2 separate regions of the Homo sapiens genome follow, and region 2 is linked to region 1. The links are contacts of gene promoters, found by promoter capture Hi-C in human tissues and cell types (Jung and others, 2019). All regions are on one chromosome and are shown on one strand. The core of a region is centred on a gene start or on the middle of the fragment in contact, and the rest is flanking DNA. Distances in the headings are between cores, read along the strand shown.

Evidence for each region. Contacts are between HindIII fragments. The study calls those that stand out against the background at their distance.
Region 2: a contact is called between a fragment that was not itself captured here and the fragment with the promoter of VAT1L in region 1, in 2 of the 25 tissues and cell types used here (adrenal gland and neural progenitor cells).

What each region holds. Positions count from the first base shown.
Region 1 is chr16:77,786,123-77,790,882 of GRCh38, reverse strand. It overlaps VAT1L (vesicle amine transport 1 like), which reads right to left and starts at 2,319. Exons shown (of 9, transcript NM_020927.3): 1 at 1,968-2,319. The coding sequence starts at 2,200. All of the region lies in intron 1 of LOC107984878 (a long non-coding RNA gene), which reads left to right. The HindIII fragment of the contact is 13,812 bases long and covers 1-4,760 here.
Region 2 is chr16:77,647,962-77,652,721 of GRCh38, reverse strand. No RefSeq gene overlaps it. Among named protein-coding and RNA genes, the nearest start is that of LINC02131, 59 kb to the right of the region's middle. The HindIII fragment of the contact is 6,352 bases long and covers 1-4,760 here.

The DNA.
Region 1 (4,760 bases), core at 1,070-3,569:
TCTTGACATTTATTATTTCAAAATGCTTCAGTTCCTATCAGCAATTATGCAGTTAACATAAGACTGGAAAACACAGAACTATGTGTACTGCAGATGATGCTCTTTCCTTTAAAAAGTAGTTTTATCATTTTCCCTCTCTGAATATGTACTCTAGAATCCTAGAATCCCATCCTCAATTTGGATGAAGGGTCATAAATTACATACGCATACATATGCAACTGTATATATAATTGTATATATGTATATGCACATATATGCATAGGTGTGTGTATACAGGTAATTTTTTTTGATGAAGTGGTTAAGGAAGGAGAGTTCTAAATGCATGGTTTTAATTGTACTAAGCAAAAGCTCTTCCACCAGCAAGTAAAGAAAAATAATGACCCAACAATCCTCCTCCGAGCTCTTTCCTCAATCCATTCATTCAGCGATAACTTATTTAGGATGTGCAGTGGGCCAAACAGTGTGGGGTGGGGGAGTGGGCTGGTCTTTGGGGATTTAGCTGCGAAAGGGCAGATATAAGCTCTCCTTCTGGGATCAAACAACTTGGTTCAATAAGAGTTTATTGTACAGGATCCCCCGGTTTGCAAAAGCCTCTTCCCTTACCCGGAATTCCCCACAGAGACTCACGAGTCGTGTTCAGAGTCAAACCTGACCAGCTGCATATATGAGCAGCAAGGCAGGGATCAGCGGCTGCTTCTCCCACTAGCTGCTTTCTAATCTGGCCGATGAAACCTGCGTCTGTTCTCAAGGTGGTGAACGGGAGGGGACCCTCGTTTGTATTTCTCGTGCCTCTAGAGAGGTCCAGATATTGGGTTTCTGATCTAACCTAGAAGCTCGTGAGCTGGCTGCTGCTTTGGAGAGCAGTATGTACTGGGGGGCTCTAGAAAACAGATGGGAAGGAATAGGCTCGTCTCACCGTGATTAATAGCAAGTTCCCCTTACAAGTTTAACATGCAAACCTAGTGTTGGGTCCAGTCCGCCTCTGCTGGGTAAGCTCTTCCCAGAACTTCAGGGAAATTACAGTGCCCGCACACAGAGAGGCTTAAACTCTCCCCGGGAATTTCAGCTGAGCGTGAGGGCCTGGAGAAGTTCCCCCAGGGGGAATGGGGAATAGAGGGCAGCTTAGAGAGCTGAGCTCCTTCTGAGATGGGACCAGGAATTCCGGGGAGACTGATCAGGGTTTTTTCCCCTCTCGGAGAAACAGAGGATGGAGAGGGGCATGGAGGGGGTTGCGCTGCAGCCCTGGTCTCCACCCTCACCAAGCCTGGGTGCAAGGTACCGACCCTCTTCCTTCCTAGTTCCTTTCCCCGTCAGGCTACGGGGAAGGAAGTGGGCAGGAGGCGGGATCCAGCCCTGCACCCTGTCCCAGGCCCTTCAGGACAACAGCATAGAGGTGAAAAAAGATCATGTATCAAATTCCCGGCCAAGCCACTTAGTGGCAGCTGACTGATCTTGGGCAAATCACTCATTCTCGCTGAGCGGCGGCTTTCTTACCTGTAAACGGATCATGATGGCACCTGACTCATTAGGTCCCAGGAAGTATTAAATAAGATCGCACGTGTAAAACTACCAACGGCGGCTGGCACACAGTGGGCTTGCGGTTCTTAATACATATATTTTTAATTCTGTTAAGCATCAACCCTCCCGTGCGAAAGCTGAGTTGTCCTCTCAGACGGAGAACTCCCGTAGCGCAATCTTCCAGACCCGGGGTGCCTGGGCGCCAGCATTCTCCCCGCGCCCAGGAGCTCACATTCTCCTCCCGTCACCCCTAGATCTGGCTTGGGGAGGCCGCCCCTCTGCATCCTCCCCAGCTTTGGCCCGGGGAGGCTCTGAGACCCGGGTGAGGGCGCGGAGGGGGTGCGCGCGGCGGTTCTACCCGGGCAGCATCCCAGCCGCAGCTTTCCCACCCCCTCCCCAGCGCCCAGCGCGCAAAAAGAGAGAAAGCGAGAAAGGCGCGGATACTGGACCAGGCTTTGACGCGGATCTTGAGCTCGCCGTCCTGAGGCTCGGGCATGGCCTTCCTGAAGAGCCGCAGCTTGTTGAGCCCCCCGAAGCCAGCCAGCACCACCGCGCGCATCTCCTGGGCGTCCCCGAGGCGGTGCGAGCCGTCGCCGCCGCCGCCCTCCGCCGGCTCCTTGCCTGCCTCCTTCTCGATCATTTGCTCCGTCTCCTCCGCCTTCTCCACGCCTTCCTTGGCCATGGCGCTCGAGGGCGCGGGGCGCACGGGCTGCGGTGGCTGCGGTGGCTGCGGCGCTGGGGGAGTGGGGCTCCTCTCCCGCGGGTTCCTCCTGTTGAATGTGGGATGCTCGGCTGTGCAATGGCTGCAGCCTCTGCGAGCGCCGCCGCGGTCCACAGCCTCCGCCGTAATCCTCACAAGAGCCGTGCCCTAAGCGCTTCACCCCCGCCCCACCCTTCTTTCCTGTCCCAACGAAGCCTCAACTCCAGTTCCTGAAATAGTCCCAAGTTAGGGTCGGGATCGCGGCCCTAAACCCAAATTTGCCGAAGATCTGTGACTAAAACGAGCCTAGAGAGACCACCCTGTCATCCCCCTTCCTGTGGGCCCAGTACTTGGTTATATACGGCACAGGCTCGGGTGCCTTGAAATGGACCGAGACTAATGTCTGGGCCTGGAGGATGCCTTACCGCGACAAGGTTGCCCTCTCTCCCTCCCATCTTCGAGGCTGGGCGGGATAGTCGGGAAATTGGGTCGTTTCTCAAACAGCCAGTTTTGGGTGGAAGGGCGGAGAGGTTTGGGAAGCAGGGAACTAGAGATCCCGCTCACTGCCCTGAAGAGTCCAGTGCAGGGTCTTTTCACTCCAGACCTGCAGGGTCAGCCGGGATGCTCTTTGCTGGGTATCACCAGGGGCTTCCTTACGACGGCGAATTCTCACCACCCACACCATTTCGGGCTATTAAAGAGGCTTCAGACAAGAATCCTGTACCAGAAAGGATCCTGTTCGTGTTCTGATCCCCGGAAGACCAGTGTGTACCCGCTCCCCAACATGCATGCACATACACAGAGTAGTAACTGGCGTTTTGTTTTGTTATCAGGCTCTTTGAGAAAAACAGCTCATAGAAAAACTTGGAATTTCTGAAATAAAATAATGGGGAAGGACGTGGTTTTCCTAGGGGCAGTTTAAGGAAAGAGATGCAGGTGAGGAAGTAGGTCTATATTCTATTATAGTTGCTATGCCATTGCCAGCCTTGAGATCTTGGGCAACTCATTCAACCTTCCTGAGCCTCAACACACTCATCTATAAATTGGGTACATTGATTTTTTTTTCTATATTGTGTGAAGTGCTGGGGTGGACATGATTTCAGTGAGACATGGTCCTTATATTGGAAAAGGTCAATTTCAGAGCATGAGGCATGAAGGACACAGTCAACAAATGTGGTACAATGAATGATGTAAGTGCTGCCTCTTCTCTCCCCTCATTCTTCCTGTGCCTCACTGCTTTAAATGCCCTTGTCTTCTATTCCTTAAAAAAAAAAAAAAAAAAAAAAAAGACGATTGCCATTTTCCCTCCTTCCACAGGGTTCTGCACCTGCTGTCCCCTTGGCCTGGGGTATGTGTTCCATCTCCTTTATCTGGTGTTAACTCCTACTTCGTTCTCACCTCAAGGGTCCATTCCTGTTGGGAGGCACTCCAACCTCCAGATTGGTGTCCTCCCTGACTATAGACACTTATGTCCCTTTGTAGCCAACTTTTATATGTTTACCTGATAATATCTGTTTCCTTTATCCAACTGTGAACTTCATGTGAGCAGGAGCTATTTCTACTTTTATCCAGCGTGGTTTTCCCAGGGCTTAATACATGATTGGTACATAGTAGAATATGCACAGAGGCAGCCTGTTGAAAAACTGGTCCAGAGAGTTGGAGAAGTTCTCATGGAGGAGGGAACATTTGGGCTAGACCTTGAAGGATAAGGCAGGTTCTTCTGGCAGAAAAGGTCGCAAGCTCATTCAAATAACACAGAAAGGTAACAGGTAAAAGGGCTTTTGAGATTCTGGTTTGTTCTATGTAGGCAGAACATTGGCTGTATTTAGCAATCATTGGAGATGAGGCTGAAAGGTTTATTGGGACCAGCTTTTGAAAGTTCTCACATACCAGGTTATAAAATTTAAGACATAATCACAGAGGCAATTGGTGCCATAAAGGCTTAAAAAACAAAAACATGGGGAGAGCATTACCAGAACTGCATTTTAGGATAATAACTTTGACAGTAAGTGGGTGATGGATTAGATGATAGAGTTACTGGAAGCATCGAGATCAGTTAGAGACTAAGTGCAGGCAAAAAAAAAAAAAAATCCCCAAAAAGAAACAAAATAAATGAGAATGGTCCCAACTGAGGCAATGGCCATGGGATGGAAGGAAGAGGGCTAAAAGAAGCCTGAATAGGGCTTGGTTAGTGAATTGAACATTTTATTGTGAATCCAATTGTCCAAATTGTTTGTCTTGTTTACATTGTGAGATACAGTGTTTAGGCTGGATTCTGTCCTGAAACAAGAATTTGAACACCCGTCGTTTATTTTGGAAGTAATCCCAGGAAGCTCTGGCTGGGAAGTAGGAAAGTGAGACAGAAAATTGATACTACCCAATATGAGATGTATTAATAAGCAGATTACCGCAGTGGACAATTGGAGCTCAAACCCGCAGGGGACATTTGAGAGACAGTGTAGAACAAGTCTCAGAGTTGTCTCACCCAAGGAGTGAGGACATAGGTATTTATTCACTAAAGTCTATGCTTGATTGGTCAAGA
Region 2 (4,760 bases), core at 613-3,112, 140 kb after region 1:
CTGGTGGTAGGGCTCTAGTGTAACAGCTCAGACAGACAAGGGTTAGGTACGAAAGATCTGCCCCAGTTGCAAGAGAAGGGAGATGTTGCATGAATCCCTACAACTTTTTGTCAGACTGAATCACATGAGGTTGAGTAGGACAACCACACTTATTGGTGTCTCAAGATTTTGGCAAGGTAGCAGAAGCCTTGCATAACCACTTACAGAAACCTTTCTCCTTTGGGACTCCTAGTACTTGGTTACTGTGTGTGTCTGTTAAATATGATTTATTTACTCCCAAGTCTTTCCGGCGCACAGTGGAAAAATAAGTGGTTGAAATCAGAACTCCTGGGATCAAATCCTAACACACTCCTTAATCTCGGGGTGATGCCGTGCATTTAAATATTTTTATGCCTCAGTTTTCTCATCTGTAAAATGCAGAGAGAGTAGCTACATCTTCAAACAGTTGATAATGGGGTTTAAATGAAATAACACCTGTTAAAGGCTTGGAACCACCTCTCATACAGAATAAGCACTCATGAAGTGTTAGCATTTACTCATTGCAACTTTTTAAATACAGAGTCTTGCTTGGTCACCCAGGCTGAAGTGCAGTGGCGTGATCTCGGCTCACTGCAACCTCCGTCTCCTGGGATCAAGCAATTCTCCCGCCTCAGCCTCCTGAGTAGCTGGGATTACAGGTGCCCGCCACTGCACCTGGCTAATTTTTGTATTTCTAGTAGAGACGGGGTTTCGCCATGTTGGCCAGGTTGGTCTCAAAACTCCTAACCTTAAGCGATCCACATTCCTCAGCACCCCCAAAGTGCTGGGATTAGAGGCATGAGCCACCGCGCCTTGCCTGATTGCTACTTTTAAATTCTATTTTGATTTTGAATTTCTTCAATTTCCAGAATTTGTGAAATTAGGATTTGCTTCTTGCTAGGTTTATTAACCATAGGCTTATTTGTTCACTGATGACCGAAGTTTCTATGTCAAGTGTCTGTCTTTTGAAGAGCACAACAATGGACAGTGATCAAGAGGAAATGTCTCTGCTTAATTTTATTGTTTTCGCATCATCTAAGGAGTGTGAAGTGGGTTGATAATTCAGTCCTAGAAGGACATTGGAATGTTAAAGAGGAAACCTATTGTTGCAATTATATCAAACTTGGCTCTTCCAGTGACAGAGAGAAGCTCCATCATGGTAGGATTTCCTTCTTAAAATGCAAACAAGGCACTGCTCAAGAGAAGGAAGGAGAATATTTTCTTTTTAATCATGCTGCCTAGCAATGTCTCTGGGGCTGTTACGGAGGTAGCTTTTATATACGACTCACATAAGTTTAATGACTAAAGGTTGTTATTGTGTTACTGTTTTTCTCCCTCCAGAGGAAGTAATGCAGCAACTCTGTGTTTGAAGACTCTTCTCATTAGTCTTTTTATTTATTTGAAATTGGTGCCATCATCTGCATAAATCATGGCAATTCTAAGAAGCCTGGCACTGAGTATGGCTGGCTGTTAAGAAAATACGCTAAATTACTGAAAGAGCAGCTTTGCATAGTTAGGAAGAGGGTTCTACTCTAGAGTTCTCAGAGGAAGTTAAATTTATGATGGAGGCAAAAGAATGAGACCGAGCCAGATATTTAGACCTTAGGGAAGAGTAATCCAGGTGGAAGGAAGAGTTGGTGCAAAACTGTGAGCCTTTGCCAGGAAAGATACGACACATTTGAGGAGCTGTAAGAAGTTCTGTGTGCTTGTGTGTGGTGAGCAAATGAGAAGACGGTGTGAGTGGAGAAATGCCAGAAGCCAGAGGAATAGGGCTTTGAAGTCCATGATTTCCTTCTGAGTAGAACTGAAGCCATTGAGCACATCTAAGCAGGGCTGTAAGATATTCTGATTTATATATTTTAAAACATTCCTCTGATCTGGTAGAGAATAGATTAAAGACAAAATTAGAGACAGAGGGTCAGTTGGGAGGTTAGTGCTGTCTGCAGTGGAATATAGTAGATACTTAGTGAACTTTGTTAAAAAAAATACTACACAGTTTATTTTCTCTTGGGTGCTTGAGTTGAAGAAAAATTGTGGATTATTCTAAAGTTAGTGTGTACATGAAAATAAGCAATTGTAACCCCTGAAGAGCTGCAGAAGCTTCTTAACTTTTCTGGAAATCGTTTCAGAATTCTGAAAATTAAGCCCAGTACCTGTGTGTGGGTGTGGAAGCTTCTCTACAGCTTGGCTTGTCTAACCTGAGAGCACAACACAACAGTTTTAGAGTGCATTGAAGAAAGTGAAAAGCCTGGTCTCCAAGAAGGGAAGCGTCTGTCAGTTAGAGGTCATTTACTTAAAAAAATAAAACCAGAGACAGAAGAGTCTAGTGGAAGTGGGTGCAGGATGCTGAAAAAATAGAAATGTCAATGTCATAGTTACCAGCAGGAACTGAATCAGTTGTGGGGGAAAATGGACAATGGGGCACCTACTCTTCAGGGGCAATGGGATCCATCCTGCACGAGGCCCAGGGCATGGACATGACCCACCCTGAGGAGCCTACTCAGCACTAGACAGGGACTAAGCTAATTTGGAAACTTCTGACACTCTGAGAATAATTGCAAGTCAGTTTGGCCAAGGGCAAATGACTGCCAATGGTGAAGTCATTTTGCAGAATTTTGCTTACCCAAACACTACAGCTGGAGGAAATAAATGAAATTTAAGCAGTATATTGGACTCCCAGAGAGAAACTTGTAAGGTAGAAAAGGAACCCATTTAAAGAACCTTAGCTCTTCTTAGAAATCCATGGAATTAATGAAATCCAGCTCTCTCTCCCTAGTTGACCTCAGTTTCCTCGTTTCAGTCCAGGCCTGGTACCGAGAATCAGGTTTTTAGAAGTATTATCTGAGCCTGCTTAGAAGTCACTTGATTCTTCTTGCTCACAAGCAAGGAAGCTAAGATCAATGAATCTTGGCTTCATGTCGTTGGAAGCTATATTTTTACTCAGAACTGGGAAGAGTGCTTTAGTATTGTAGCTGCCTGGCAATGGAACAGACTGCCTTGGGAGACAATAATAATAATATCAGGTTAACATTTATTGAGCATATACTATGTGCCAGACACTAGGCTAAGTGTTTCACATGCATTATCTTACCTGGTTCATAGCAGAGATCATTTTACAGAGAAAGAAACCAAGGTTTAGAAGAGTTAAGGCTGGTGCCTAAGGTCACACAATTCTACATTTTTATCCCTGGGGTGGGGTGGTCCTTGGTAAATAGAAACTGGGTGTTTCAAAGAATAAATGAAAGAATTAACTTGATTAAATTCAAGAAATGTTTTTGAAAAGCTATTATGGGTCAAACAGAGTGTTCGGCATTTTTGGATAAACAAAGACCAATATGATCTAGGTTATGGCTGGAAGATCCTTCCAGACTACTAGGAACAATTTAGCATATGCTTTCTAATTTATAAAATTAAGCATTTACAAAGTTCTAGAAAATGCGGTGGGAGTATTTGGTTACATCTTCAGGTAGAAGATAATTAGGAAAGGCTTCCTGCATGAAGGGGAATGTTGAGGGATCATGTGGGAAGGGAATTGAAAACAGGTTGGGGACCACATGGAGTATTCCAAGCTATGGAGCTTTCATTTTATTCACATGGGTATGAGGAATTCACTAGTGCTTTTTCTGGTAGGGGGTGATCTGAAAGCATCAAGAATTACCTGCTAGCTGGAAATGAAGAGACCTACTTAAAAAAAAGAGCTAAGGTGGGCCAGGCACAGTGGCTCACATCTGTGATCCCAGCACTTTGGGAGGCAAAGGCAGGTGGATCACTTGAGGTCAGGAGTTCGAGACCAGCCTGGCCAACATGGTGAAACACTGTCTCTATTAAAAATACAAAAAATTAGCTGGGCGTAGTGGTGCATGCCTGTAATCTCAGCTACTCAGGAGGCTGAGGCAGGAGAATCGCTTGAACCTGGGAGGCAGAGACTGCAGTGAGTCGAGATTGTGCCACTGCACTCCAGCCTGGGTGACAGAGACCTCACAATCCCGGAGGAAGGCAAGGAGGAGCATGTTATGTCTTACATGGATGGTGGCAGGCAAAGAGAGAGAGGTTATGCAGGGAAACTCCCGTTTTTGAAATTGTCAGATCTCATGAGACTTACTCACTGTCATGAGAACAGGACGGGAAAGACCTGCCCCCATGATTCAGTTATCCTATCGGGTCCCTCCCACAACATGTGGGAATTCAAGGTGAGATTTGGGTGGGGATACAGCCAAACCATATCAGCCATGGACAAGACAGATTCAATCCTTGTCTGCATGGAACTTAAATTTCTGTGAAGAGATGATCACATACGTAATTAGTAAATTACAATTGCAGCAAGTGACATAGAGGAAGAATGTTAAGAGTGTCCAGCTCCTAACTGGTACTGGGCCAGGCTTTCATGAGAAAGGAAATTCAAGTTGAGACCTGAATGTAAGTAGGTTAGTCCTGGCATACCTATTTTAAGTGCCATGTTTCCTTGTACTTTTAATAAAAACAGGAAAAGATGTGGACCCTTTAGGGTGCTTGAACCTGTAAGCTGCACGCACCAATGAGATTCTTGGTGCAGGTATAAAATGTCTTGATACAGATCTTCATGATGGAAGGTGTTACCCACATGTATGTTGCTAATATCAGCTCTTGCTTCTGCTGACTTCACCAACTGCCTTGTTAGTTGGCCTTAGGTTGCCTGGGTTATTCTTATATTCTGAAAATGTGCTTCATTTTCTCCAAAGCAATGACTTGGAGGAGACCAGAAA